Regions from separate parts of the Homo sapiens genome. Here regions 1, 2, 3, 4, 5 and 7 are each linked to region 6. The links are contacts of gene promoters, found by promoter capture Hi-C in blood cells and fetal thymus (Javierre and others, 2016). All regions are on one chromosome and are shown on one strand. Each heading gives the region's core, a stretch centred on a gene start or on the middle of the fragment in contact. The rest is flanking DNA. Distances are from core to core; before and after follow the strand shown. Region 1 has its middle 81 kb from the start of LINC01038. Region 2 has its middle 60 kb from the start of LINC01038. Region 3 has its middle 46 kb from the start of LINC00377. Region 4 has its middle 97 kb from the start of LINC01038. Region 5 has its middle 120 kb from the start of LINC01038. Region 6 holds the start of SPRY2 (sprouty RTK signaling antagonist 2). Region 7 has its middle 67 kb from the start of LINC00377.

Evidence for each region. The method cuts DNA at HindIII sites, captures the fragments that hold promoters and counts their contacts. A CHiCAGO score of 5 or more calls a contact.
Region 1: a contact is called between a fragment that was not itself captured here and the fragment with the promoter of SPRY2 in region 6, in 3 of 17 cell types (endothelial precursors, M0 macrophages and monocytes). The highest score is 7.1, in endothelial precursors.
Region 2: a contact is called between a fragment that was not itself captured here and the fragment with the promoter of SPRY2 in region 6, in 3 of 17 cell types (M1 macrophages, monocytes and M0 macrophages). The highest score is 7.2, in M1 macrophages.
Region 3: a contact is called between a fragment that was not itself captured here and the fragment with the promoter of SPRY2 in region 6, in 2 of 17 cell types (endothelial precursors and M0 macrophages). The highest score is 7.3, in endothelial precursors.
Region 4: a contact is called between a fragment that was not itself captured here and the fragment with the promoter of SPRY2 in region 6, in 1 of 17 cell types (M0 macrophages). The highest score is 5.6, in M0 macrophages.
Region 5: a fragment that was not itself captured here is called in contact with the fragment with the promoter of SPRY2 in region 6 in 5 of 17 cell types (M0 macrophages, M2 macrophages, neutrophils and 2 more); the score reaches 11.5 in M0 macrophages.
Region 7: a fragment that was not itself captured here is called in contact with the fragment with the promoter of SPRY2 in region 6 in 3 of 17 cell types (endothelial precursors, megakaryocytes and erythroblasts); the score reaches 9.6 in endothelial precursors.

The regions. Positions count from the first base shown.
Region 1 is chr13:79,722,321-79,725,098 of GRCh38, forward strand. No RefSeq gene overlaps it. Among named protein-coding and RNA genes, the nearest start is that of LINC01038, 81 kb to the right of the region's middle. The HindIII fragment of the contact is 1,362 bases long and covers 808-2,169 here.
Region 2 is chr13:79,742,626-79,745,353 of GRCh38, forward strand. No RefSeq gene overlaps it. Among named protein-coding and RNA genes, the nearest start is that of LINC01038, 60 kb to the right of the region's middle. The HindIII fragment of the contact is 1,735 bases long and covers 447-2,181 here.
Region 3 is chr13:80,970,687-80,973,550 of GRCh38, forward strand. No RefSeq gene overlaps it. Among named protein-coding and RNA genes, the nearest start is that of LINC00377, 46 kb to the right of the region's middle. The HindIII fragment of the contact is 3,063 bases long and covers 1-2,864 here.
Region 4 is chr13:79,705,693-79,708,392 of GRCh38, forward strand. No RefSeq gene overlaps it. Among named protein-coding and RNA genes, the nearest start is that of LINC01038, 97 kb to the right of the region's middle. The HindIII fragment of the contact is 1,728 bases long and covers 391-2,118 here.
Region 5 is chr13:79,687,633-79,690,475 of GRCh38, forward strand. No RefSeq gene overlaps it. Among named protein-coding and RNA genes, the nearest start is that of LINC01038, 120 kb to the right of the region's middle. The HindIII fragment of the contact is 9,076 bases long and covers 1-2,843 here.
Region 6 is chr13:80,339,685-80,342,384 of GRCh38, forward strand. It overlaps SPRY2 (sprouty RTK signaling antagonist 2), which reads right to left and starts at 1,442. Exons shown (of 2, transcript NM_005842.4): 1 at 938-1,442. RefSeq lists silencers at 1,390-1,579, 1,810-1,859. The HindIII fragment of the contact is 9,098 bases long and covers 1-2,700 here.
Region 7 is chr13:80,949,846-80,952,552 of GRCh38, forward strand. No RefSeq gene overlaps it. Among named protein-coding and RNA genes, the nearest start is that of LINC00377, 67 kb to the right of the region's middle. The HindIII fragment of the contact is 1,221 bases long and covers 720-1,940 here.

The DNA.
Region 1 (2,778 bases), core at 239-2,738, 620 kb before region 6:
TCCTGGTTTTGAGACTTTAGCTCATATCTTTTAGGTATCCACTGTTTCGTTTAGTCAGCACAACATGGCCACAGATAGTTCTAAATTAAAGAAATAAGATTTAGAGTTTAGACAATATATGCTCAGGGATCCCAGTGGCAAAGCCAGGTTTGAATTGCAAATCAGTCTGATGAAAAAGTCCATGTTCTTTGTTGTTACTATACTGCTTGGACTCTCTTACTCTCAGCCTTGTGACAGTTGACTTGCTTCTGACAACTTCTTTCCCTCAGGTAAACCAAGGAGGCCTTCATGCTTCATGTGTCAGTCCCAACCCAACTTCTCACTGCTGCTCTTCTGACAAATGAACATGATTCCGCTGTTACCTGCCTCTATCTGTATTTATGTTTTATAAGTTATTTACACATTTTAGCTAAAGACATTTAGAACATTTGAGTTTGCACTGATTATGTTTTTGACAATTGCATTTACTAGTAAACCTTCAGTTCTTCCTCTTGCTAACATAGTTGGAAGGAGGGTTCTTTTATTATTGAAATAACCAAAGTCCTTCACTCCATTGCTTGCAACTCCAAAATTTTACTTAACAAAAAACTATGTCATTAAGAATTGTCATAGTTTCAAAACGTTACCATTATGCCTAACAAACTTATTTCAGTGACTGCTCCACTCATTTGTTATATCTTACTTAACTCCATGTCAAAGACCAGGCTCTCCACTAAAGATAGAAACCCAAGAGGTGCAGAAGCTAGTGAGTCAGCAATACAGTCTCCCTCCCATCTCAGGAGCTTACTTGCAAGAGATGAAATGTGAAGCTTCTATAATAAAAAAGTAGCATCAGAATTGTTATTTTTATTCAACCTTTACATAACTTGAGTATTCTCAGTCTCCAAATCTAGGCTGTTTCTTCAGGCAGTGGCAGGCCTCCAAGGAGAGCTTTCACATGTCAGGAGTTCTGGTGGGTCTGAATAATGTCTCTTGAGGTTGTTTCTGATTTCCTCAATGGGCCCCTGTTGACCTCACTATGAAACCTGGGGAAAAGTAGGGCTCTGTATGAGGCAGGTAAATGCTCAGAGCTCTTGGGAAGGGGCCAGCATTAATGATGATTATGTAGCAGGTTGAAAGTGATCTTTGGGCTCTTTTCCATGTCAGGAATGCCTCAAACACAGCTGATGTGGGAGGCTCTGCAGACCCCAGAAGCACCACTCGTGTTTTAAGGGGAGTAAACTCCTTTTCACACTACCTCTGCCGTAAGGACACACAAAGATGAATGGCCAGCCTGAATGACAGGGCTGCTTCTCTCTGCAAGCTGCATACAGAACGCTTTGTGTTCATGACGATTGCAATACTTCCCTTCTGGCAGAGGGAAGCTGGCTTCTCTAGAGCTGCGGAAAGTAACGCTTGTTTCTGAATTGGTTAGAGTTCAATCTCAATTATGTCTGGAAACAACACACACTCCTTTCCCCCTTCTGTATGACTGCAGTGTTAATTTCAAGTGAACTTGTGCAAGTTACTTTAAAGTTGAAATAGCCACACAACACTGACATTTATTGGGCACTCCCTTTGGAGCCTTCCTGGCAGCATGGCCACAGAAGGTGTTGCCTCTACGCCAGGGGTTTGGAGCCTCACTCTTTCCAGTCTTCATGTCCCACCCTACAGCAAGGCTGGAAGAGATTATTTGCACAGGATCACATTCAATTCTGCCTCTCCTCCACCCACACAAAGCCTAATTTCAACTTTTCCCCAAGTGGTATGAAGCTGGAACCCCAGATCAAGTCCAAGAAAGAAAAAAAAGATATTATAATTTAATTTGCTTGCCATTTAAAAGGCATTTTTATTATGCAGATGGCTGGATTCTTGGATTTTCATGAGGTAGTACGCTTACCAGCATTAACATAACTCTAATTTGTTCTACCTTTATTGTTTTTTAAAAGCCTTAGTATTTCAGCTGACCATGTTTCTGAATTCCTTTATGCCCCTCTAAAACATACTTTATATAAACCTTGATCTGATGAAGAAATGCATGTAATATTTTAAAAAGGCACACAGCACAACAGTCATGAGTTGCACCTGTTTTTAGTATCTGCACATACTCAGCCAGGGCGTGTCATTGAATCAGCCCCTGCAGCTGTTGTTTTGCCATTAAAAAAATACTACTCTATTCATGTAGGTTTAAGCTTTGTGAACTCTAACTTGGACTTGTTAAAGGAAGGTTCTAAGACTCTGTCTGGACTGCTGATAATAGGTTAGATAAAGATCCAACATTAGCCCTCACACAATTACATTTACAGGAATGGGAGGAAATCTCTCAAACAATATAGAGTCCAGAAGACAGCAGATGTGGACCTTGCAAAATTAATGATTAACTGCATGCCAGTGTGTTTGTCAGGGAACAGTGCTGCTCTTTAAGGGCTTATATAGTCTATGAAAGAAATTAGCTCATGAGAGGACTCATAAGGACAAAAGAAAAAAACTTAAGTAGAGGCTTGACATATCCTGCTTTTCTCACAGGGCAAAAAGTTAAACATAAAGCTCTCCTTTTAATAGTGTGAAGTTCTGACTCTGAAGCTGAGGCAGATCATCCACTTGTTAAAACAAGATATGAACATTCTTGTTATTCCTTAAAGGGGGGAGGGAATAGCGTGCACTCAGAATGAACTCTAAATGTACTAGAAAGAAGGGGGAAATTATTGAACAATTATCCTAGACGTTGAAGACTGAAACCAAAAATTATTATAGGAGTGACAGGAAAGTAGTAAATAAGACTAGATGTTCATAATTTGT
Region 2 (2,728 bases), core at 64-2,563, 600 kb before region 6:
CAGGGAGATACATCAATAATACACATCTTGCCATTAAATGGCAAAGATATAACAACTTAGGAATGATTCAGAAATCAGAAATCAATATCTGGAGGCATTTAGCCCCTTGAATATAGAAATATTCTTATATATAGATACACTTTTTTTGCTGTTGAAAGGTATCTCTAGTTTTTAAACAATGGAAGCAGTGGAAGAGCCCACATAGCTGGGCAATATTTGACCCTGGGATGGAGCCCTCTGCCCCAGGGTTAGGCAACCTTTCTAGTGTGGGTAGATAGGGAGTGTCAAGTGTAATCTGAGGCCAAAGCTTTCTGGGAAGCGTGCCCCTGATGTAGGCTATCTGAGTGCTCTGACCCTGTCCATCTGCCTACCTCATCTGTCCTGACCTATGAGGCCTGTAGCTCATTAAGATCTTGGCTATTGACATCTGACTTGCTCTAGCCTCAAGCTTTGCTTTCTGGCTTTCCACTCTGCATGCTCCTTGATCTCAATTTTTAAATCAGTTTCCCAATCTCTACCTTGCCATGATCGTATCAGCAATGGTTCCTGATTACTCAGCTTTTCTGTCTTAATGATCTTCCCTGAGGGCTCCGGCTAATGAGTCCTAGTGCCTGGCATGATGGATGAGCCTTTTAGCAAATACTTTCAGATAAACATTTTTCCTTCTTCTTTTCTGCTAACAAGTACATATGATGCACTGATACCTCAACTAATGACAAATGCATTCTAATGAGACTTCTTAAATATTGTCAGAAATTTATAAACTAGATTGGAATAACAGCATAGTATTAGACTTGCATTCCTGCTATAAAGAAAAATTATCTAAAACCTATAAATAAGGTCCAGAGGATAGCTGCATTATCTTTTAGTGTATATTTTAGGCACACCTTTAAATTATTTGATTTTGTAGGCTGATGTACCACTGTTTGACTTTGCCATTTACTGTTGATTAGTGCACATACACTGTGGAGTTATGTCTTTACTAGTAGTTTTTGTTCAATAGAGATGTGAATAGTTTCTGTGTGGTAAAAAAGATAAGCAACAGTTTATTGCCTGGTAGGACACTAAGTTGTTTTGTGTTTAAACGGACAATAATCTTACTCTAATATTATTATTTTTAAAATTGCCTATAAATAGTTTCTCAAAATGTTTTGTTTGAAATAACTTTATATCTACTGGTTCCCTCATTAATAAATGAGTTGAATACACTTTGAACATGTTCATCGTGTATTTGTATGGGTCATGTTAAGTTATGACAATTATATTTTGCCACTGCAGATGAAATAAAAAGGTTAATAATAGTAAACTAGTACTAGCGACAAAATCAAACATGAGTCTTCAGGAGTGGGAAGGTGTTGCATTGAAGACAGTGAGGTTGAAAGGAGTGAGAGAGTGGAAATTGGCACTCAGTCAGGGACAAACATGCCAGAAAGAGGACATTTACACAGAACATGGAGCTCCAATTGACATATGAGGGTTATCCTGGGCTCATTCTTCCCCTCACTTTATCACCAAGAAGCCATGGAAATAACTCTTTTGGGGACTGTGGCTACTCATCTTCAGCCAAGGAAGAGTTAGTAGCGCAATGTCCCTCCTGCCTAAGTCTAGGGTGCTGAAAGAAGGGCTAGGAGACCATCAATTATGATGCTATTCAGATTTATGTTCCTAAGAGACTCTGCACAGGTACCTCTGAAGACTAGTCTAAGGACTTTGAATGTGAGCTTCGGCTAGAAGTTTCTGAGGGTCTGTGGAACACTTAGGGAAAGCCCCCTCTTCTTGGGTCTGCCCTTCAGGACTGTGGAAGTCAAGAGCCTCAGATAAGCAGCAGCTTGGAAACATCAGAAGCCCTCCCAGGAATCTGCAGAAAGGACCAGCCTACGAAGACCTTATTCCTTGCAGACCTCTGCTTACATTTTTCACCTCCAACTAATTTGTACATTGATTGATAAGGAGGTCAATCCATGGTCTAGTGAGTGTCTATCTACATGGAGCGTAGACATTGTTGGCCTGTTGTTATACCCCTCAGCGAGGAAAAGGAATCAATTTCCCTCCCAGAAATCTAGTTGGATGAGTCTCAGCAAGTTACAACAAGGATCTACCTTACTCCCAAACTAACTGAAAACTCAACCATCAGATTCTTGGCAGAGAAAGGATGGAGGTAAACGTGACAATGAACTGAGAAGCTTCAGGCTCCACTGGTAAAGCAAGCGGGAGAAAAAGGCAAGGGAAGCACTTCTGCAGCCTCCACCCAGATTTTAAATTTATTTTTGTATCTTTTGAATAGGTTGCTCAAGGCCTTTGGTAAAATGACAAAATGAGGTTTTTTCAAATCTTCCTTTCACATCTTACAGGTATGAATGGTACTAGGTTTACCATTTTAAAAAGTCACAGTTGAGCTTCCAGCCTCTGTGTGTGTGTGTGTGTGTGTGTGTGTGTGTGTGTGTGTGTGTTTTCCTTTCATTAATGGGTTCTTTCCAAGTCAGGAAATCAACAAGAGACAAAATTTATAGCTAGACTAAGTTAAAGAATGCTGTTCTGAGCACTAGATTTTCTTTTCTGCTTTTAAAAATCCCCATTTGTCTTCACATTTTCTTTTCCAAACCCCTCCCCATCCTATTCCATGTGGCTGGAGGCTTAATATGCTAACACTTAGGAGAACAGAAGACTTTCTCCAGAGAGAGCTACAGAGCTGTTCTGTGTAACTGCCAGAACCGCCAACCTGAGCCTC
Region 3 (2,864 bases), core at 255-2,754, 630 kb after region 6:
GTAATCACATAAGCCAACTCTTCTCATAAGTACTCTTTCATATATATATGTATATGAACTCTGATGAATACAATGCTGACTTCTTTGAAAGCCTTCTGCACCCTTGCCTTTGTTCATTACTGCTAGCATGCTGCTCAAGAAGGGGTTTTTATATTTACTTGTTATTGATTATAGATATCTTGGTTACATGGTTGGATGAATGAATTCACATTTGGAAGTATAACTTGTAATGAGTATTTCAGCTAGAGGATGAGCAGACAAATTTGTCAAGGAATAACAAAATCTCTCATAATAATGAAGTGGTAGGAAACTTACTACTTGAAAAAAGCAAGGATGCAAGATTTCCCCGATCACAGCTAATTTACACTTATGCTTGCCTGCTGCATTAGCACATCCCAGTACAGTTATTCTATCCTTAGCAGTCTTAATTCCTGTAGCGGGTGTCTCATCAGCTGTAGTAAATGTCTTTCTGGGGCAAGAACACAAAAACAGTGATGTTTCATCAGCGTTATTTACTTGGTCTTGTGTCATATTTTTATCAGCAGTTACTTTGGCAAATCAATGAGTTTTTCTGCCGCTTCATGATCAGCAGATGCTTTATTATCACAAATATCTAAAAATGTAATGCCGTGTTTTTTTCTTAAATGTTTGCAACTAGCCTGTTGAGTATTTATAGTTTCCTTCAATTTTCAGTTCATTGTGATAGACCTTTGCTTGTTTCATGATCAGCATACCATTAAGTTGTATGTGTTTACTGCCACACTGATGGATGTACTCCTCTAATACTTGATCTCATTTTTTAGCTTTATGTAGTAGTTTTTTTCTATTTTTCCTTAACTTTTTTTTTTAGACAGAGCCTTGCTCTGTTGCCCAGGCTGGAGTGCAATAGCACAATCTCAGCTCACTGCGACCTCCACCTCCTGGGTTCAAGGGATTTTCGTATCTCAGCCTCCCTAGTAGCTGGGATTAGAGGCGTGCACCACCACAGCTAATTTTGTATTTTTTGTAGAGATGGTGTTTCACCATGTTGGCCAGGCTGGTTTTGAACTCCTGATCTCAAGTGATCCACTTGCCTCAGCCTCCCAAAGTGCTGGGATTACAGGCGTGAACCCCTGTGCCTGGCCTATTTTTCATTAACTTCTGTTCATCAATTTCATCCTAGAACTTTGACAGTTTATCCTTCTGTTTCCTTAGGTCACATGTAGTGGTTATGCTGACATCATAATTTTCTGTAAGTTGTTTTACGTGCACACTGCTGTCCAGTTTCTCCAACAGCTTTACTTTCTGTGAGCATAAACTCATCCTTTTCCTTATCACTGTTACCCACAGGGGCATCATCCAGGCCCTTTGGACATTTTCAACAAAGTCATTTTCAACACCATACAGCAGAAAATAAGCAAGAGCAGTGAGTAATGCACATGGATCTTGGCCCCATGTGGGGCATCGTGTGGAGGCTGCCATTGACATATTCACCCTGCACACATGGCATTTTATTACCCTTTGTGTGTCTCCTTCATGGGGGAATCCGGGTGTGTGTGGAAAAGATATATCACAGATGAAGAAGGCTGGAAAGATTATTTTTACCCCTTCAGGATACTAAGTAAACTTTGTGGTATGCACCTGCATTTTGACTGCAACTCATCACATAATGACAGGCGTAAAATTTTCCACTTGTGGCATCATGTTGGTGCTCAAAAGTTTCAAATTTGAGAGCATTTTGGATTTCAGATTTTTGGATTAGGTATGCTCAACTTATAGTACACATTTAAATAATTTGGGGGTGATATAGAAAAAAAGCCTATTTGTAAAAAATTGTGCTATTGGTAAATTAATTTAGCAAAATTTTAGTATTTTAAAATATGCAGTGAACAATTGCTTTTCAGGTCAGTTGCTAAAATATGAGGAAATATAGAAGCAAATCTAGAACAAATTAATGTTCAGAAAGATTATGTTAATGTGTTGACCATGTTGGAGTTTGCCTGAGCCCTTGCCGTTGGAAAACAGCAAAGATGATAAATTCCCCCACCCTTCCACCTTTTGTGTTCCAAAATGTCTTATCCCAAAGAACTACTGTATTCCCACATATACTTCAATATTCTTAAGTGACTCAGATACGATTTCTATCCATCTTGCTTGTGATTCCTTTGTTTTATAATATCCCAGGTTTTCAATCTCTTCCTTGAGATGTTCCCCATTAATGAAGAATCTCTCTGTTGCAATGACCTGAGTAAAATCATCTCCTTAATGGCATGACGCATTTTTGTCTTTCACTGTGTTGAATTTATATTATTACTCCTGGCAACTGTCAGTTAGAGAGACAACATGACGGCTAGGGTTCTGCATTTTGAAACCATCACTCTGGACATGAAATATACTCTTTTAAAGTAGTGGGTATTTTAAATCTATTTTTAAAAATCAATGTATACATGTACCCTGTTAAAAAAAGAGGAGATTTGGCAGTTTTTTTGTTTTGATTAGCATAGATCTTCATTCAATTATATATTTGTTCATGGCTTAATTGTGCTCAAGAATGAGTTATGTGACTTACAGGTTATATAACTTATCAGCTGTGTAAACTCAGGGAAATGACTTAGGCTTACTAATCCTTTGTTTCCCTATATTCCTTATTTCCTACTTCATAGGATTATTGTGAAGATTCAATTAGGTAATATAAAAACTGGCACTGTTGGAGTTGGCTATTGTTATATAATCTATCATTTTATTAAATCTTTAAGTTTTTTTTTTTTTTTTGAGACAGAGTTTCACTCTTGTCACCCAGGCTGGAGTGCAATGATGCAATCTTGGCTCACTGAAACCTCTGCCACCCAGGTTCAAGCAATTCTCCTCCCTCAGCCTCCAGAGTA
Region 4 (2,700 bases), core at 5-2,504, 630 kb before region 6:
AGTCTTTCATCTTTGTTCTTTTCGAAAAACGTTTTTGCTATTCTAGGTTCTTTGTACTCATACTTAAATTTTGAGTTAGCTTATATACATTTCTGTTTAACAATGCCTGCCAGAATTTTGATATGAGCAGCTTGAAGTGTAGAGATTAATTTGGGGAAAATTGACATCTAGTACTGAGTTTTCCAATCTATGAACATGATTTATCTCTCCATTTATTTAGGTCTTCTCTACTTTCTTTCAGCAATATTGTTTTTCAGTGTAGAGGTCTTACACAGTTTTTTATTAAATTTATTCCTGAGTATTGTATTTTAAAGAATACTCTGATATATATGTGTATGTATATATATATATATATATATATATAGAGAGAGAGAGAGAGAGAGAGAGAGAAGCTTTAAAAATTATGTTTTTCAATTGTTTAAAAATAGAGAAATACAATTGGTTTTATAATTGTCCTTATATCCTATGACCTTGATAAATTTAATTATGGTAGATGTTTTGTAGATATTTTAGAATTTTCTATGTAGAAAATTACAGTCAATAAATAGAGACAGTTTTTCTTTTTAATTTTTTTTGCCTTATTACATTGACTAGGACCACCAATAAAATGTTGAAAATAAGTGGTGAGAGTAGATATCCTTTCTTTCCTTTTTTTCCCAATCTTAAACATTAAATATTTCATTATTATTCACTATTATTTTAGCTTTAGGTTTTCTGTAAAATCCCTTTGTCATGTTGAGAAAGTTTCTGTTTATTATTAGTTTTGCTGAGAGCTTTTTACCAAGAATGGATTTTCAATTTTATCAAATGCTTTCTCTGTATATATCACAGATCATATTTTCTTTTGCTGGTCTTTTGATATTATAAAAAACAATGATTGTATATTGAATGTTGAACTAAACTCGTGTTACTATAATGGTCTTCATTTGGTCAAGATGCATTATCTCTTTTAAATATCCTTGGATTTTATTTGCCAGTTTTTTTTAAAGATATGTATATCTATATTCTTGAAGGATATTGGTCTGTAATTTTTTTCTTGTTTTCATATCAGGCTGTAGACTGGCCTAAACAAGTTGTGAAATGTTTTCTCCTATATTTTCTGAAGGAGTTTATGTAATATTACTATTGCTTCTTCTTCAGATGTTTAATAGAATTCACCGTGAATACGTGTAGATTTTAATATTTCCTTTCTGTTGCTCCTTCCTTTCTAAGATTTCCACCTCAATCTTTGAGCTTCCTCTGGCAACCTCAGTCTTTGAGCTTCTCAAGCTAATAAGATTATGGCTTTCTACTTGAGTTCTAGCCTGTCCATGCCAAATGAGCAGTAGAGGACTTAAGTGAAAAGCCATATATATGTAAATTTTACCTTGTGCAGTTCCCTGTTTTGTTTTCAGTCCCCTCTCACCAGTTTTGTTTTTGATTATTCCCTAGTGCCTTCAAATAATGTTTTTATATTTATATTTTTCCAGAGTTTATGACTATGGGGAAAGTTTTGTCCAATATAAATATATTGCTTGGAAGTCAAATAAGTTTCTATCAGAAAAATGTTTTTAACCCCTAAAGCCAACCTATCATTTGAAGTAGCTTGCTGCATGAAGTAGTGAGCCAACTGGACCTGGAATGATCAACAGGGGCTATATTAGCAGTTAATTTATCAATAATAGTTATCACATAATAGACAGCACATGGTACTAATAAAAATGAGTTTTGGATTAGATAAAAAATGGATTGGAGCTATTGTATTTATCCCTTCAAATTATGTCTGAAGGTCTGAATATTTCACTCTTGTAATCATAAAATACAGTATTTTAGGTACTTGTCAGATAATTTAACCTCAATTTGACTGCCATGAAGACTTATTAAAAGTTTTACTGAGAGAAGTTGCATTTATGTATTATTTTTAAAAGAAAATTTCAATTCACACAAAGGTTCATGGTCATCCTGAGGGTAATCCAGATATAATATTAATATACTGTCATGTTTATAAGTATAGGCCCTGGGGTTACACACTATGGACTCTGCTACTCTTTACCTATGTGATCATGGGCAAAATATTCAAGTTTTCCATACCTGAGTTGTCTAATCTATAAAATAAGGATGAGAATAATAATCCTTATAAGCTTCTTATATTCAATGTATAATGCATGATAAGTGCTGAGAAAGTTTCTGACACATAAGGTATATTAAATATATATGTTATAACCACAGACCTCAATTCCTGAACCCAAATATGTTCTTATTTCATAGACCTGCTTTCCATTATGCTATCACTTTGCAGTAAGGGTCCTTAAAGAATATCTTATAAACTTGTTATTGTGAGTAGGTAATGACGTTATTGTCTCCATTTTGCACATGAGAAAGCAGATGCTTAGAGAGTTCTGTAATTGGTCCAAGGCCATTTTGTAATACTCATACCCAGACCTGCATGATTCCATGCTCTCCTGTTAACCATGAGGCCATGTTTTATTTGGCCTGACCAATCTCAAGCACGACAGAGCACTGACTGGCTTGCTATGCATCTACAAATACTCAGTTTTTTTAGTTCACACTCATTTTCTTATGACTTTAATGATGTGGCTTAGCTCTTCTGTTCAGGGTCAAAACATGCATTTAAAGGGATTTCAGTGAACTAACATTAGGATAAACTCACTTTGACAGGTAGAAAATAAAATCACTACTATTGTTATCACTGTCATTATT
Region 5 (2,843 bases), core at 51-2,550, 650 kb before region 6:
ACTGTTTTTGTTCTTCCTCAACTATATTTTTTATGAGAATGATTTTATCTGTTGAGTTATTTAAGAAACACAGCTGCATTGTGCTAGGAACCACAGATACAAGAATAAGGAAGAATATTTTCTGTCCTTAAAGATCTTACTCTCTAGAAGGAGATAAACAGCAAACAAAATGTTAAAAATATAATGACATTAGTGATAAATAGGAGTATTTAAAAGATGCTATGAGATCATGGAGAAGATAGAACTCTGCTTTGAGGATCAAGAAAAATCTTGCAGAGGTGGTAATATTTGAGCTGGGATTTAAAGATGAGTAGACATTTCTAGGTAAAATAGAAAGAAGACATTCCAAATGGAGTGAAGAGTATGGACACTGGAATGGGAGTTTAAAGAAGCAAATGCTCAAGTCTTCTTCTCAACCCCAGCAAGGTGGGGAACATGGACAAGGCTTCCACTGTGGACAGACTTGGAGAAATGTCAGATGTCTGATGGTCTTTCAAAAGACCAGAGAGAGGAGACATTGGTATGGGGGAGGCTGAAAGACATTAGTAGGAATACAAAATTGAGGGATAAGGTCAAGTAAAGTCAGACTACAGTTAGGAGAAATAGGATTAGTCACTATTCTAGATATAAGTGTGAAATTAAAACATGAATGGAAAAGGAACCCAAGATTCAGCATAAAGAAAAGAAGTTGGGGTAATGAATGAAAGGTAGGGAGAGAGAGAAGTAAGAAATAGGCTACCAGTGGATAAAGCATGACAGTTTCATGACAATTTTTTGAGAGCAGGAATCTGTTTTCTAATGACACCCTAAATAGGCAAACACGCTGTAGGTGGTTACTTAAGGACCTGCATATTTGGAAAACCTGTGAAATATCTGTGTATGGAAGAAGTTCTGAGAGTGTGTGGTAGCATGGAGGGAAATGAGGATGGAGAGGCAGACAGTGATAATATCACAAACATCCTTATAGTCTATGCTAAGGAGTTTGGAATTCCTCTGAAGTTATTTAGAAGACACTGAGGGATTTTTAGTGTGAAGATTTTAATTTTAGAACATTTTTTGGAAGCAGTGTCTAAGATGAATTATGGGTATAGTCCAGAACTGGAATATAGGGCAATTAATTAGAAGACTATTCCAATAATTGTTTTTCAATTCTGATGTTTTAAAGAGTGCTTTTATTTCTTTTTTGTTTTTTTAGAGTTGAGATCTCACTTTGTCATCCAGGCTGGAGTGCAGTGTTATGATCGTGGCTCACTGAAGCCTCAAAGTCCTGGGCTCAAGTGACCCTCTCACATCAGCCGTCTGGGTAGCTGGGTCCACAAGTGCACACCACCATGCCTGGCTACCTTTTTGAGTAATGGAGTCTTACCTTGTTGCCCGGACTGGTCTTGAGATCTTGGCCTCAAGCGATCGTCCCACCTTGGCTTCTCAAAGTGCTGGGATTACAGATATGAACCACTGCTTCCAGCTTGTTTATTTTTTTAATGACCAATAATAATTTTATACATTTATGGGGTACAATGTGATGTTTCAATATATGTATATATTATGGAATGATTAGGCCAAGCTAATTAGCATATCCATTACCTCCCCTACTTATTATCATTACTTTTTGTGGTGAGAACATTTAAAATCTATCTTTCAGCTATTTTGAAATACGCAATACATTATTAATTATGGTCACCCCTCTGTGTTATACACAGCATATGTTATATAATTATCTACCTCCTGTATAACTGAAACTTTGTATCTTTTGACCAATGTCTCCCCTTTTCCCTATTAGCTCCCAACCTGCACCTACCCTGGGCCTGTGGTAACCACCATTCTACTCTCCCATGATGTTGACTTCCAGGTTTTACATATGGGTGAAATCATACAGCATTTGTCTTTTTGTACCGGGCTAATTTCACTTAACATAATATCCTCTAGGTTCATTCATGTTTTCTCAAATGACATTTTTTTTAAAAAAGACTAGTATTTCTTTGTTATATATATTCACATTTCCTTTATGCATTCATTTATTGATGGACACTTAGGTTGCTTCCACATTTTGGCTATTTGAGGTCTTTTGTGGCTCCATACAAATTTTGGAATCTTTTTTTTTTCATTTCTGTAAAAATGGCATTGAAATTTTGGTGAGGATTGCACTGAATCTGTAGATTGCTTTGGGTAGTATGGACATTTTAACATCACCAATTTAAGATGGGAGATTTGGGACATTTGAATCTCCCAAAACATGAGCAAGGGATATCTTTGCATTATTTTGTGTTTTCTTCAAATTTTTCATTAATATTTTCTAGTTTTCAGCGTATAGATTTTTCAACTCCTTGGTTAAATTTACTCCTAAGTATTTTTTAATGCTATTGTTAATGGGATTTTTTTTAAATTTATTTTTTGGATAGTTCATTGTTAGTGTATAGAATGCTGCTGACTTTTGTATGTTGATTTGATGTTCTGCAATTTAACTTAATTTGTTAATCCTAAAAGTGTTTTTTTCTTTTTTTTTTTGGGGGGGATTTGTCAGGGTTTTGTATATACAGACAGTCCCCGACATATGATGGTTTGACTTAGTTTTTCAACTTTATGATGGTATGAAAGCTATACACATTTAGTGGAAACTGTACTTCTCTCATGATGCTGGGCAGAAGCAGTGAGACACAGCTCTCAGCCATGCATTTTCGACTTATGATATTTTCTTGGGTCATAACCCTATTCTAAGTCAAGGACCATCTGTATAAGATCATCATGTTGTCTGTAAACAGAGACATTTAACTCTTCCTTTCTAATTTGGATGCCTTCTAATTCTTTCTCTTGCCTAATTGCTCTGGTGAAGACTTACAGTACTA
Region 6 (2,700 bases), core at 192-2,691:
CCCATTAAGAACAGTGTGTGATCAGACTGAGGATTAGGGGAAAAGAACTTCAGCTCTAGGGTGGGGCAAACGGACACAGAAACTGCTTTGTAAAAAACACACAAGAATCCAAATTAAAACACAGCAACAACAACAACAAAAGGAAATAAAAAATTGCCTATTTTGCCACCTACTTTCAGGTAATGGAAAATGATCGCGACCGCTTGATGACTTTCTTCCTGCGCTGGGTCAGCCCGAGCTTCCAAAAATAAAATAAGTGTGACCCAGGCTGACCACGAAGAACGGAAGAGAGAGAGCTGCACTTCCGAACCGCAGAGACCCGGCGCCAGGCAGGGCGACGCTCCCACCCGCTCCGGGCTAGACTGTCCACACGGAGCAGAGGCGGGCACTCCCTCCACCCGGCACCCTGCCTTTTTCTCACCCTGGAAGTCTCCTGCCCCCGAGGCGGGCAACCTGTGTCCCCCAGCCCCACCAGCGCCCCGCCTAGGGACAGCCTCTCCCTGGACTTTGCCTTCCACCAAGAGGAAGAACAGGTTAGAAATGCGGGCGCCTGCAAAGGCAACCTGGAAAATACAAAGTGTTTTTCTCTCCCTCTCCCGCTCTCAGCGCCGAATTCGCGGCCAGTGCACGGCTGGGAGCAGACTTCAGGCTAGCTGTCCTCCGTCCCAACCCCCTAGAGCGCGGGCGCGCGGGGTCGCCTGTCGGGGACACTGCACGGGGTGCATACAGAAGTCCCCGCAGAGGCAGGCCGAGCCCAAGCCCCGGGCGAGGCAGGTCCGCGGGGAGCGCCCCGGATCCTCGCGAAGACCCTGCGGGATTTGAGAAAGGGAGGCTCGGGGAGAGACGGACCCAACTCCTGGTCCGGCTGCACCTACTCCATGTTGCCCACAACGCGCCGGCCGCGGCGCCAGGAGGGGAAGAGCCAAACGTGCCTCACCGTGATCGCGGCTTTGCACCAACCCCTCTCCCTTGGATTCTCTTCTTTCTGCGATGTGCAAATAAATCCAGTCTCGATGCAAACTTTTTTCCTTTCTTTCCAACCTCTGCTTTAGACCAACTTCCGAGCAATCGGCGGGAGAAAAAAAGAGAATTCGGAGCCAGATTCCCCGCTGATGAACACTCCGGGGTTCGGAGCTGGAGACGACTCCCCTTCTACAAGCGCACGCGGAGTATTTCCTCTTTTTTCTCAATGAACAAGAGGCCGAAGCGCCAACGGCAAGTCCCTTTTCCTGGCAGATGAGCGAATGGGAAAAGAAAACGGCCTTACGGAGAACCTAAAGCCAGATCGCCAAGTGGTGCGGCCGGGGCCGCGTCGTAGCGGAGGCGGCGCGGGGGCGCGGGCCGGGCCGGGCCGGGCGGGCGCGGGGGCCTGGGCGCTGCGCGCTCCGCCGGCCCCTCTCCTCCGCTAGCGCTGCGGCGCGCAGCTCTCGGCGGTGCAGACTGGGCGTTGTGGAGGCGAGGCAGCGAGGCCGAGGCGGGGGCGGTGGGTGCGGAGGAGGAGGAAGAGGAGGAGGAGGAGGAGGAGGAGGGTCTGGGGCCCGCCCGGGGGGGGCTCGCCGTTGGCCTGCGCCCTCGCCTTTCCGGAGGAGGCAGGGAGCTCTGCGGCGGCCGCGGCAGCAGTAAATGGCGTCATGTGGATCCGAGGCGGAACAGAGCAGTTGTTGTCCCAGAGGATATATCGCATCCGGTCCCAGCTCATTGGCTCCGCGGGGCTACATTCACTCACACTCCAGCGCCCGCCAGCGCTCCGAGCCGCAGGAGGCATTCAAAAGGGCAACCGCGCCGCCCCGCGCGTCCCCAGGCCGGTCCTGCCGCCCGAGCGCCGTCACGCGGGGCGCCCGCGGGGCCGGGCTGGGCACTGCAGGGTCAGTTTATCTAGTTTCAAGGAAACACTGACCTTAAGGTTTGCCCAGAGGCAATGAGGACGAGCCAGAGGCTCGAGCTGACTTAGGGAACTTTCTCCTTGCCACCAGGAAAGGGGAATGAACATTTAAGACTAATCTGGGCCACGCAGTGTTAGCATGAAAAACAAGTTGCAGGTTTTAAGACTTTATCCAGAATCCATTTCAAGTCTACCTCTCCCCTTTTCTGTTCCCCTTTGCGGAGCGGGTGACGGGGGCTGGGGCGGGGGGAGAAGAAGGGGGAGGGGAAGGGGAGCGGGAAGTGAGGTGGGAGGGCTATTGGTTTATTCTTTGTCTACTGGATTAACCCGATTATACACCAGGCACCAGCACAAACCGCCTCCCCCACCTCCGAGCCTTGTACGGGAGGAACGGAATGCAGATTCGAGTTTCAAGTACCTTCTGCTCTTGCTGGGATTTGCTTTTGATTGTGTCGACTTGTAGTTTTTCCGTTTATTAGAATTTCATTTTTAAGGGGGGTTATCTATGAATGGAGGCTTTTTGAAGAGCTTCCTTACTATTTTGCTTCATGCAGTAGCTAAAGTCTACAGTCTAAGCCTTTTAACTTAATTCATTAATAGACAGGAACAAGATTACTCAGGGCGACAGCATGGGCTTCCGAAATGGGGGGGCGGGGGGGAGGGAAGGGTTGGCTCACTGCAGATTTCCTTCTTCCCTTAACTAAAAGTCATCCTTCATTTCCCACTTTTCTTGCCACCTAGAACATTTCTCAAGATTCTGTTGTCCATGTTGAAGGTGCACTATTCTTTCCCATTTACAAAAAAAAAATAAAGATAGA
Region 7 (2,707 bases), core at 80-2,579, 610 kb after region 6:
AAATCTCTATAAATCCAGATTGCACATTCTCAGAATAATAATTTTTAAAAATTTTTAATATTTAATCTCTGTGATGAACATGGAAAGATTATGAATGGAATCAGTTAGTAACAAGTCAGATCACTAAAGATAGCTTCAGAAAGATCTACCCCTGTCTAGTATCAGCACAAATAAAAAATAATTAAGTCCCTACCATTAAATAAACTTTTATTTAACACTTACTATTTTCCTCATGCTATGTGAGACAGAGGACACAAATGTAAAAAAGACAGTCTCTTTTTTTTAAGCCACAGTATTGGAGAAATAAATATATACAAATAATCCCAATTTAGAGTGATAAATGGCATAGCAGTTGAGTATAAAAGGTAGAAAAGGTGAAGGGAAAAAAAGGTAAATTCTTTCTGATGCCTCTAATTACAGAGTAGGGAGAGTGAAAATCAGAAACATTTAGATAAAAAATATACAGCTGAACTGAATCCAAAAGAATGATTTCCACATAGAAAGGAGAGTAAATAATGTTTGCAAACATGCAGACCTGCAGAAGATCACAAGGTGTATAGCGGAACCAAGTAACTTAAAATGTGCAGAATGTGAGCTAAGTTTAAGAAAGAGCCAGAGATAAAACTGAAAAGAAAGGAAAGGTCAAGGTTAAAAAAAAGGCATACTTAGAAGCTCACTTTGGTTACTCTTTATAGGAAAGAATTGGATTGGGAGGGTGAAGCTTTGTATCTTGGCATGAGTCTAGTTTAAAAAAAAAAGACTATTCAGAAATTGAGATAATGTATGTATTATGAAAGTGGAAGCAGAAATGAGTAGAAAGAGATGGATTCAAGAGCTATTTTGGAATTAGAATCCATAGGAAATGTCACATAAAATATTGGTAGCAGGACAGTTGAAAAAAATACATAGGCTACCTTCCACATTGTAATTCCATTTGCTTGGAGGATATTTGGCTCAAAAATCTCAATAAGAAATATAGAAAAAACTGAGTTTGGAGTGGAAATTATTAATATAAGTTTGAAAATTTGAGTTTCAAACACCTATCACACATATAGATAGATGCCAATATGGTATGTAAACAGAGGAACCGATATTATGAATAGGACATGTGATTGATAATCTAGAGCAAGTAGGTAGTAAAATCATGCTATTGATGCTGGAGCCATTGTACACCTCTTGCTTTAAAAAAATAAACCTCAACCTAAACTTCATATCTTATTTAAATTTATCTCAAAATGGACCATTAAATGTAAAATGTAAAACCATTACAATTTTAGAAAAAAAGAACAGAAATAGTCATCATCATCTAGGCTGAGGGAAAGGTTCTGAGACTTGACCCCCAAAATTATCCATAATAAAAAAATTGATAAATTGAGTGCATCAAAATTAAAATATTTTGCTCTACAAAGACTCTGTTACATGGATAAAAAGACAAGCTGTAGACTTGGAGAAAATATTTGCAAACCATATACCCAACAAAAGAATAGTAACTAGAATATATAAAGACATGTCAAAAGACAATAGTATAAAAAAGAAAAATCAAGTAGAAAATGGGCAAAAGACCTGACACATAGTTAAAGCAAAGAGCACATACAGATAGCTAGTAAGTGCGTAAAAAGGTGCTCAACATCATTAGCCAGTAGAGAAATGCAAATTAAAAACCACATTTCACTGCCAGAAGCAGTCTGCATTATACAAAATTAATAAAAGTCACTAATTTCTGCAACTTTCTATTTTATTTGCTTCCATGGCAAATTGTTGATTTTTGTGTCATTTCTCCATTTCTTTTTGAGGTTCCTTCCTTCTTCTTCCCTAAATTGAATGTGACCACTACTCAGCAATATTTTTTTATTTCTGTCTAAAATATTTCTTAGAGATTTTATGTTTATGACTTCAAATTCCAAATTTTCATTAATGATTTAGTGTGAATTGTTTCTTTAAGCTTTAAGTGAGTAAAAAGTAATATCTATCAGAATGGCTAAAATTTAAAAAAAATGACATCAGATGTGGGTGAGGATGGGAAGAAACTAGATTGCTGGTGGGAATATAAAATAGTATAGCCACTCTGTATAACAGTTTGGCTGTTTCTTATAAAACTAAACATTCAACTACCATATTACCCTATAATCATTTCCTTGGGCATTTATCTCAGAGAAATAAAAACTAACATTTATGCCCCAAAATTACATAAATATTTGTATTAGATTTATTTATAATAGCCAAAAACTGGAAAAATTCAGATTTCCTTCAACAGATCAATAGTTAAAAGATAACCCCCAAAACTCTGGTACACGCATATCATGAAACATTACTCATCAATCAAAGTAAACAAATTATCAATACAATGCGATAACCTGGGTGCATCTATAAAGAATTATATTGAGTGAGAAAAGTCAGCTCCAAAATGTTACATACTACGTGGTCACATTTGTATAACATTCTTAAGATGAGAATAATGACAGATATACAAGACAGATTGTTAGTTGCCAGGGGTTAAGATGGTGTGAAGATAGGAGGGAAGTAGGTGTCACAGTAAAAGGGCAGCTTGTGTGAATAGAAATGTTCTGTGTCTTGACTATGTAAATGTCAATATCCTGACTTGCAAGATGTTACTATTAATAGGGATGAAGTAAAAGGCACACAGGATCTCTCTATATAACATATCATAAATGTAAAACTATAATTATCACAAAAGAAAAAGTTTAAA